2 separate regions of the Homo sapiens genome follow, and region 2 is linked to region 1. Evidence: promoter capture Hi-C in human tissues and cell types (Jung and others, 2019). All regions are on one chromosome and are shown on one strand. Each heading gives the region's core, a stretch centred on a gene start or on the middle of the fragment in contact. The rest is flanking DNA. Distances are from core to core; before and after follow the strand shown. Region 1 holds the start of MAPK1 (mitogen-activated protein kinase 1). Region 2 has its middle 49 kb from the start of TOP3B.

Evidence for each region. Contacts are between HindIII fragments. The study calls those that stand out against the background at their distance.
Region 2: a fragment that was not itself captured here is called in contact with the fragment with the promoter of MAPK1 in region 1 in 1 of the 25 tissues and cell types used here (lymphoblastoid cells).

The regions. Positions count from the first base shown.
Region 1 is chr22:21,866,395-21,871,287 of GRCh38, forward strand. MAPK1 (mitogen-activated protein kinase 1) reads right to left here and starts at 1,251. Exons shown (of 9, transcript NM_002745.5): 1 at 928-1,251. The coding sequence starts at 1,046. RefSeq lists a silencer at 1,182-1,421. The HindIII fragment of the contact is 55,514 bases long and covers 1-4,893 here.
Region 2 is chr22:22,029,669-22,034,055 of GRCh38, forward strand. It overlaps the pseudogene PRAMENP, IGL, IGLV4-69 and the pseudogene IGLVI-68. Among named protein-coding and RNA genes, the nearest start is that of TOP3B, 49 kb to the left of the region's middle. RefSeq lists enhancers at 529-1,309, 687-946, 1,310-2,089, 1,387-1,466, 1,607-1,666 and a silencer at 1,737-1,856. The HindIII fragment of the contact is 9,029 bases long and covers 1-4,387 here.

The DNA of each region.
Region 1 (4,893 bases), core at 1-2,500:
AAAAAAAACCGTCACTATCATTTCACTTTTCTAAGGGACCTGAATCAAGATGAGGGAGTCTACGTGTGATTCTGCAAGAACTCCATTAAGGCTGCATACATAATGACCACTAAATCATTAACAGGAGTCCATAGCAATTGGGCTAAAACATCTGGGAGCATTTATGCTGGTAAAAGAGCTCACTTGGGGGCTAAAAAAAAAGTCAAATTAGGCCCAACTCTAAACGGATCTTTAACAAATCAAGAGAGTAATGTTAGTTTATCCTTCCTGAAACGCCAGCAGTACGATATTAAAATCCACTTAGAAGTAAAAACTTCAAGACGGAAATATGCCACCAACACTGGCGTCAGTAATCCATTTTAGAAAGCCTGCGCGGAGACCACCATTAGCACCGCTGAGGATATTTAATGAAAGCCGTTGGCTGCAAACAGAGGCGAAGAGAGAAAAACGATTATTTCGGTGTTCTGCACACACGCGGAGGCAAAACGCTTTCAGGACCTCAGCAGCCACCGCCGCCAACACCGACAAGCATCTGATGGAATTCACAGTTTTACAATCGAAAGTCCAAAAGAAGGCCATGATACTAGCAAATTGAGGGGTGGGGACCCTTCCGTTGCCTTCCCGAGGGTCCAGACTTTAAAGGCCGCGCTGCGCCCGGGGCCAAGGGTCCACTAGTACCGGCCTACGCCCCCCGCGCCACTCCCTGAGCCCCTTCCCGAGCGACCGAAGGCCCGGGAACCGCGAGCAACAACACCTAAACCTCAACCGGCCCGGGGCCGCGCCCGAGCCCTGGCGCGCGGACCGCGGTGAAGTCCGGGTTCGAGGTCGCCGCGGCGCCTGAGGCCGAGGCGCGGGCGAGGCCGAGGCTGCGTCCGCTGCGGCCCCGGGCGGTGGGGGGGCCGGGCGTGGCCGGTCGCGGACACTCACCACACCATGCCGTAGGCGCCCTCGCCGATGTACGAGAGGTTGGTGTAGCGCGGCCCCACGTCGAACACCTGCCCGCGGACCATCTCCGGGCCCGCGCCCGCCGCCGCCGCCGCCGCCATGTTGGCTGCCGGGCCGCCGCCGCCTCCGCCGCGCTGAGCTCGACGCTCGGCGGCCGCCGCTCAGCTCTTGTCGCCCCTCCCGCAGGGACTGCGCCGCCGCCGGTGCAGCCGCCGACGCTGACCGGGAGGAGGAAGGAAGACGCCGAGCGGGAGAGCTGAAGAGCCGACAGCCACTCGGACCGATTGCCTGCCTGCCTGCCAGACTGACGGGCGGGCCGGCGGGCGGGCGGAGGGAGGGGCGCGCGCCGAGGAGGGTGCCGGGGCGGGGACAAGAAGTGTGCATGCGGATTGGTTCCTCGCGGCTGGGGGCGGGGCCGCGCGGGCCGGCGGAAGCGGCGGGCTTCGGGAGGGGCACTGCGACGGCGTTGACTGAGGGGGCGCCACTAGGCGCGGTCACGTGCATTCGCGGTGCATTCGCGGGGGCGTCGGTGCGGGTCGCGTCTCTTAAGACACCCAGGGAGACAGACGTGGGGCAGAACTCATGGGCTGAAGTGAGAGATGGCTGGGGCCCAGGCGAGCGACCGAGCAGGGTCCGAACAGAGCCAGCGAGGGACCCCGGGCTGTGCTTGAGGCCCGACGACGCGCCATATCCCGGCAGCGCCGCAGCTCAGGCCTCTGCGAATCTGTGGTCCACACGCTGATAAACTTAGAGGCCTCTGCACTGGGGCAGAAACCGAAAGGCATGACCCAGACCGAGAAAGATATTTGCATACTGAGAAAGTGTGAAACACAATTGTCGAGACTAAAAGGAGACACTGAGAGGATACGCCAATCAGGTTAGTTCAGATGTTTGTTGAGCACACTCCATGTTCCTGGGGATCCACCCTTATAGAAGTTACCTTTTAGAGAGAGGAGACAGACAAATACGTGTAATGCTCAAGTTGTGATAAGTACGATGAAGAAGTACAAAGCAGAAGGGAGGGCGCGGTGTCTCACGCCTATCATCCCAGCACTTTGGGAGGCCGAGGCGGGCGGATCACTTGAGGTCAGGAGTTTGAGACCAGGTCTCTACTAAAAATACAAAAATTAAGTCCGGGCGAGGTGGCTCACGCCTGTAATCCTAGCACTTTGGGAGGCCGAGGCGGGCGGATCACGAGGTCAGGAGTTCAAGACCAGCCTGGCCAACATGGCGAAACCCTGTCTCTACTAAAAATACAAAAATTAGCCGGGCGCAGTGGTGGGCGCCTGTCATCCCAGCTACTTGGGAGGCTGAGGCAGGAGGACAAAGCAGAGAGTAAGGGATTAGGGGGTGGTGGGTCGAAACACATGAGAGATACATTTGCGTTCAGAGACAGACCGAGATTGGTACAGATAGGCAGAAATGCTGACAGAGCAGGTAATGAAATAGAAATGCAAAGATAGAGTCACTAAAACCAAAACATCGAGGTTTAGAGAAAAAGAGACACACCAGGTTAAGAAACAGTCACAAACAACAGAGGTTGAAAAAATAAAAATTAGAGTCCTGAAGCAGGTGGATACCAAGGAAAGCTAAGACAACGAGACGGACAATGACCCAGGCACTGCTTCTGAACCTTTTCCCCTGCCATGTTTGGAGGGAGAAGGAAGAGCGGCAGACCCTATATCCTCTTTGTTCAACTCTTCCAAGTTTAAAACCATCAACTCTTGACTTCTAGACATCAACAAAGATTAATTAGTCAATCTCAAAGGAGAATAAACAAAGTTTTTTGTTTGTTTGTTTGTTTAACTCTCTGGTGGAAGCTGGTGTGGTGGCTCACGCCTGTAATCCCAACTTGGGCCCAAGAATTCAAGACTAGCCTGGGCAACACAGCAATACCCTGTCTCTAAAACAGAGAAACAAACAAACAAAAAATCCTGTGGGGGAAAAAGGATGTGACACATGAGAAAAGGAATAAACTGCTCCAGCCAAAATTTACTCCTTCAAAATATATTTAGCCCATGAAGCAGGACCCAATTTTAGAAAATACCTAATTCTTGAGTTAATGGGTGCAGCACACCAGCATGGCACATGTATACATATGTAACTAACCAGCACATTGTGCACATGTACCCTAAAACTTAAAGTATAATAATAATAATAAAAAGAAAATACCTAATTCTTATTCTCAAAAGAGGACATTGCATATTTTTTTAAAAAACAGGCCAAGATAAATGGAGTACCATGAAATTAAAACCACAATAACCGGCCGGGCGCGGTGGCTCACGCCTGTAATCCCAGCACTTTGGGAGGCGGAGGAGGGCAGATTGCCCAAGCTCAGAAACTGGGGACCAGCCTGGGCAACATGGTGAAACCCCGTCTCTACTAAGATACAAAAAATTAGCTGGGCCTGCCGGTGTGCCTGTAGTCCCAGCTACTCGGGAGGCTGAGGCAGGAGAATTGCTTGAACTCGGGAGGCAGAGGTTACAGTGAGCTGAGATCGCGCCACTGCACTCCAGCCTGGGCCACAGAGTGAGACTCCGTCTCAAAAAAAAAAAAAAAAAAGAGGCCGGGTGCGGTGGCTCACGCTTGTAATCCCAGCACTTTGGGAGGCCGAGATGGGCGGATCACAAGGTCAGGAGATCGAGACCATCCTGGCTAACATGGTGAAACCTCGTCTCTACTAAAAATACAAAAAAAAAAAAAAAAAAAATTAGCCGGGCGTGGTGGCGAGTGCCTGTAGTCCCACCTACTCCGGAGGCTGAGACAGGAGAATGGCGTCAACCCGGGAGGCGGAGCTTGCAGTGAGCCGAGGTCACGCCACTGCACTCCAACCTGGGTGACAGAGCAAGACTCCGTCTCAAAAAAAAAAAAAAAAAAAGTAGACTTGATGCAGAAGAGTACATCAGCAATATAGAAGATAAACATGAGAAAATTTTCAAGAATATAGAACAAAGTGATGGAATCCTGTAAGAGAAGATAATGGGGATGGACAGCATCTAGGGATTCTAACTCTAGGCATCCCCACAGGAAGACAGAGCAAATCGGTTAGAGCGAATAATCAAAATTACAATAGGAGAAAAGTTTCCTTAGGTTGCAAAAAGGTCTGAGGTGGAGGTGGGAAATAGAGTGGGTTCACTGAGATTGAGAAAAATTAAGAAGAAACCAACAACACATAATCTGGGAAAATCATTAAGTTTCAGGGATAAAGAACAGACACTAATAGACCCAATTAGGGAAAAAAATGTTATTTATAAAAAAGCTGGCCAGCAGGCACGGTGGCTCGTGCCTGTAATCCCAGCACTTTGGGAGGCCGAGGCGGGCGGATCATGAGGTCAGGAGTTCTAGACCAGCCTGGCCAACATGGCGAAACCCCATCTCTTCTAAAAATACAAAAATTAGCTGGGTGTGGTGGTGTGTGCCTGTAATTCCAGCTTCTTGGGAGGCTGAGGCAGGAGAATTGCTTGAATCCAGGAGGTGGAGGTTGCAGTGAGCCGAGATCGTGCCACTGCACTCCAGTCTGGGCAACAGAGTGAGATTCCGTCTCCGGGGGAAAAAAAGATGGCTGGGCGAGGTGGCTCACACCTGTAATCCCAGCACTTTGGGAGGCTGAGGCGGGTGGATCACCTGAGGTCAGGAGTTCGAGACCAGCCTGGCCAACGTGGTAAAACCTTGTCTCTACTGAAAATACAAAAATTAGCCGAGCATGATGGCTGGCACCTGTAATCCTAGCTACTTGGGAGGCTAAGGCAGGAGAATCGCTTGAACCCGGAAGGCATAGGTTGCAGTGAGCCGAGATTGCACCATTGCACTCCAGTCTGGGTGATAAGAACGAGACTCCATTTAAAAAAAAAAAAAGCTAAAAACTGGCTTTATTCAGATTTTTCCTCTGCAACACTTAAAAGCCAAAGGAAAATAGAACAAGATTGACAACACTTTGAAGGGGTAGGT
Region 2 (4,387 bases), core at 1,070-3,569, 160 kb after region 1:
TCCTGCTGGCCTGGGAGCATCCAGGCCAAGGGGTGAGGTGGGGACAGCCCTACATTAAGTTTTTATTTCAAGGTAGAAAATCTGTCCCCTTGATTGTTTGGGAAACTATAAAAAGACTAGGGCAGCTCAGGGTCTAAAATACAGCTTCAGGGAGTACAGAGTTAGAGTGCAGAAACTTCAATTCCATTTACTCTCTAGCAATTTACCTAATATCAAAACATACAGTTATGTTATGTTTACAAATATGCACGCACCTCTATTAATATGTGTTCATAAGTACATACACATGCACCATTACGTTTACACATACATGCATGTAACACCAACTGATGTAAAAATCATTGTTTTATGTACTCAGTTTTCCTTTGAGTTTACCCTCTTTTCTCTACTTTTTAAAATATTTATTTCTAATTTGGGGAGCTACTAACTGAGATTATTTTTCATCTCACTGAAAAACAGTTTTAGAATTTCCTGTAGAGCAGTTCTGCTGGTGGCAAATTCCATCGGGTTTTGTCTGAAAAGTAGCCATTTTCTCCTATTTTTTCTGTTTATTATATAGAAAGATAACTTATATAAAGTAAAATTCACAGGTCTTAATTATACAGTTTGATGGTTTTTACAAATGCAGATGCTCATGTAGCCAACAGTCCGATCCATTCTCACAACATCTCCATTACTGCAGAATGGAGACATTCTGTTCCAGTCAATGTAAATTATCCCATTACACCTACCAAATAGAACGTGTATGAGAGACACCTTTCTCCTGAGGACTTTTGCAAAGTGGGGTGGATCATGTGTCCCGCTCCCACTGAAAAGGGCTAAATGGAAAACTAAAGTCTGAAATAAAATAGGAGGCTGCCCTGACGAGGGGTCCCACTTTGCCCTTGGACAGAGAACAGGCCGTGGTCAAGGCCCTGGTCCGGGCAGAAGCCTCTGTCAGGACCCACTGGCATCTGGTCACAGACACGATGGACCTGGGCCTAGGCAGAAGGGGGTGCTGTTGGTCTGCTGCTGAGGGCTCTGTGGGTTTCTCAGCTGGGAAACCAAACACTTGAACTTGGTCTCCACGCAGGGTTCACTGGGGCCAGCAGCTGGGCTCTCTCTGCACCCTTGGAGAGCCTCAGGCCAGGCCCAGCCCAGGTAACCCCTCCCAGAAATGTCACCCCACCACTGGGACTGACACTCAGGCACACGGAGTGATTTGGTTGGGCAGAGGAAGAGGAGCACATTTGCATGAAGGGCCCCTCTCTCTCCTCTGGGACTACAGGGTGGGTAAGAAATACCTGCAACTGTCAGCCTCAGCAGAGCTCTGGGGAGTCTGCACCATGGCTTGGACCCCACTCCTCTTCCTCACCCTCCTCCTCCACTGCACAGGTCAGGATGGCCCTCAGCACCCTGACCTCCAGCTCACTGATACCACCTCCCAAACTTATGCCAGGAATGTCCTTCCCTCTTTTCTTGACTCCAGCCGGTAATGGGTGTCTGTGTTTTCAGGGTCTCTCTCCCAGCTTGTGCTGACTCAATCGCCCTCTGCCTCTGCCTCCCTGGGAGCCTCGGTCAAGCTCACCTGCACTCTGAGCAGTGGGCACAGCAGCTACGCCATCGCATGGCATCAGCAGCAGCCAGAGAAGGGCCCTCGGTACTTGATGAAGCTTAACAGTGATGGCAGCCACAGCAAGGGGGACGGGATCCCTGATCGCTTCTCAGGCTCCAGCTCTGGGGCTGAGCGCTACCTCACCATCTCCAGCCTCCAGTCTGAGGATGAGGCTGACTATTACTGTCAGACCTGGGGCACTGGCATTCACACAGTGACACAGGCAGATGAGGAAGTGGGACAGAAACCTCAGCCTGCTCAGGGTCTTGTTATATGACAAGTTTTAAATTTTCAAATATGTTTTATATGTACACACTCCACTTGGAAGCACCGTCTGGTTTAAAATGTTTCTACTCTCAATTTCTCATTCAAGTTTTCTGAAGTCTCAGGAAAACTAAAAACAGAAACAAAAATATCATGATGACTATGAAATATTACCTAATTTTCCAAATATGCTGAATTCAGTGCCTGTGGAGCTAACCATTTTCTCTTGACAGAAGAAAAATGAGCCTTAGAAATTGTTTCCAAATCCTGAAAGAGTCATCATTCCATGTACTCAGGACAGATTTAGAGAGTGCTGACCCTGCCCTTTGAAAGATGTTATTTGCCTCTTAGTGCCCAAATAAGGAAGGATAATTAGGAATCAGAAGCCTACCTAGGGCTCCCCTCTCTCCTCTCAAAATTGCACTTGGTGTCATATTGCCCTAGAATTTATGCCTGGTGCTGGCAAATATTTTTAAATTTATTTTTTAATCTTTTCCTTTTCTGCAATCAAATTTCTTGAGGGGCTGAGAAGAAGAAATAGGCCCAGAGAGAAGCAAGGCAGTCTGGGTGCAGGCTCTAGACAGCCCAGGGAGAAGAAAGAGGGAGCAGCTCCCTGTGTCCTGGAGGGAGCCCTGTCCCCATTGGGCTTCCTGCTCTGATGTCCCCTAGTGGAGGCTCCTCAGGGAGTCCAGCCTCCCAGAACTGCCCTATAAACCTCACAGTGAGCTAAGCAAGTATATCCAGGAAGGAGGGTCTGTGGAGATGTGAGACTAAGGTGTGTTATGGCCTAAACACTGCCCATCTCCATCCTTCTTGGGGATGACAAAGTGAACAGTGGAGGAGACAGGATACATGGGTGCATCTGGACCTCAAGCAGTAGGCTGTTCTGTGGTCTGTCCCTAAATCTTGTGCTGGAGACCCCATACGAGAGCCACTCCCTGACCCTGGGCTGGAGCCCTCTACCCCCTGCTCACAAGACCAGCAGCTGTTTCCTTATAGGCCCCCAGGGAGCCACAGAACAGCATCAACCAAGACCATCCTCTTCATGTGTCAGCTTTTCAGGGAGGGATCGAAGTCATGGCCCAGGAAAGGGCTTGGACAGCCCAGGGGAGGAGGCTGGTTGGTATGAAGGATGCCCTCCTCACCCTGAGCTGCTGGAGGGAGTACAAGGGACTTGGAGAGCCCAGGCTCAGTTGATGATCCTCAGGATGTAGAGCTATGTATGGGTCTCCACTGTGGTCTCTCCCCCGCCTTCTCCTTCACTGCACAGGTGGCTAGGGCTCAGTGTCAGGGCTGGTGATCAAAAGACCAAGGTTTATGCATGTGTCTCTGTCCACTGACCCACCTCTCACCCTGTGTCTGTCTTAATGTCCAGCGTCCTGAGCCCAGCCTGTGCTGACCCAGCCACCTGCAGTGCATGCATCTGTGGGGCAGGTGGGTACCAGCTCCTGCACTAGAAGCAGCAGCAATGTTGGGCACGGGCATGTGCTCTGGTACAAACATGCCTCCGAGAGACCCAGAGCTCCACATATATAAAAGCAGTCATTGACCCTTAGGGGCATAGGCCCAATGCTGAGGCTCCAGGTTGGAGAACATGGCCTCTCTGAGCATCTCTGGACTCCAGGCAGAGGAAAAGGCTGATTTTTATTCTCAGCTTGGGACACAAGCACCAAGGCTCAGGCAGTACTTCAGGCCAGTGGGGAAGTGGGAGAAAAAGCTGCTGCCCATCCAGCAATGGAGCTTCTCTGTGCAGCCCCCACTTCTTGGGCAAGTCAGCTGATTAACGTTGCTTTTCATTTGTTTAGTAAAAATTTAGATTTTAAAACTCACTCCAGTGAACGCAGTGTGGAGAATGTGTTTCTGTCCTCTCAATTCTACCCTCACACCCAACCCTTGGCAGTAACAAATTGTCGTATTGTCTCATATTAAGAGAAATCCCTCAATACCAAGATCAGGCTGTCCTGGAAACCAAATCCATAATGGGTCAAAACAGGACCAGGGTCATTGTGTCTGACTCAGGATAGTCGACTCCCAAAGGTCTGTTTATCCACCTCATTCACTGAGAAGCTACTATGCACCAGCCTCAGATCCAGGGATTCAAGGTACATGATGAACAAGAGAGGAAGGGGCCCTGTCCTCATGGAGCTGACACTGAGTGGTGGAACAGATAAGGCAATCAAGTAAAAATGTCAATGCGACAATATGATGTCATCACACAGTGAGGAGAGCTCAGTTGGGGGTAGAGGAGCCATCAGAAGGTTGGGCAAGGAAGACACAGGATCTGACTCAAGTTTATGAAGAAAAGTCCAGATGCCTCAAAGAAGATGAACAAGGAGACAGCAAGCATGAAGGCCACGGGGCCAGTTGGGGTCATTGGAGAGAAAGGTCAGGTCTAGCCTGTGTTTGTAAGAGGAGGGACTGAAGCCTGGGTGAGGAGAGAGGGCTCAGGAATAGCCTTGGAAAGTGGAGGGAGTGGATGCGAAACCCCTGCTGAGGGGGCCTCCATGAGCAATGAGGCTGGGGGAGGCC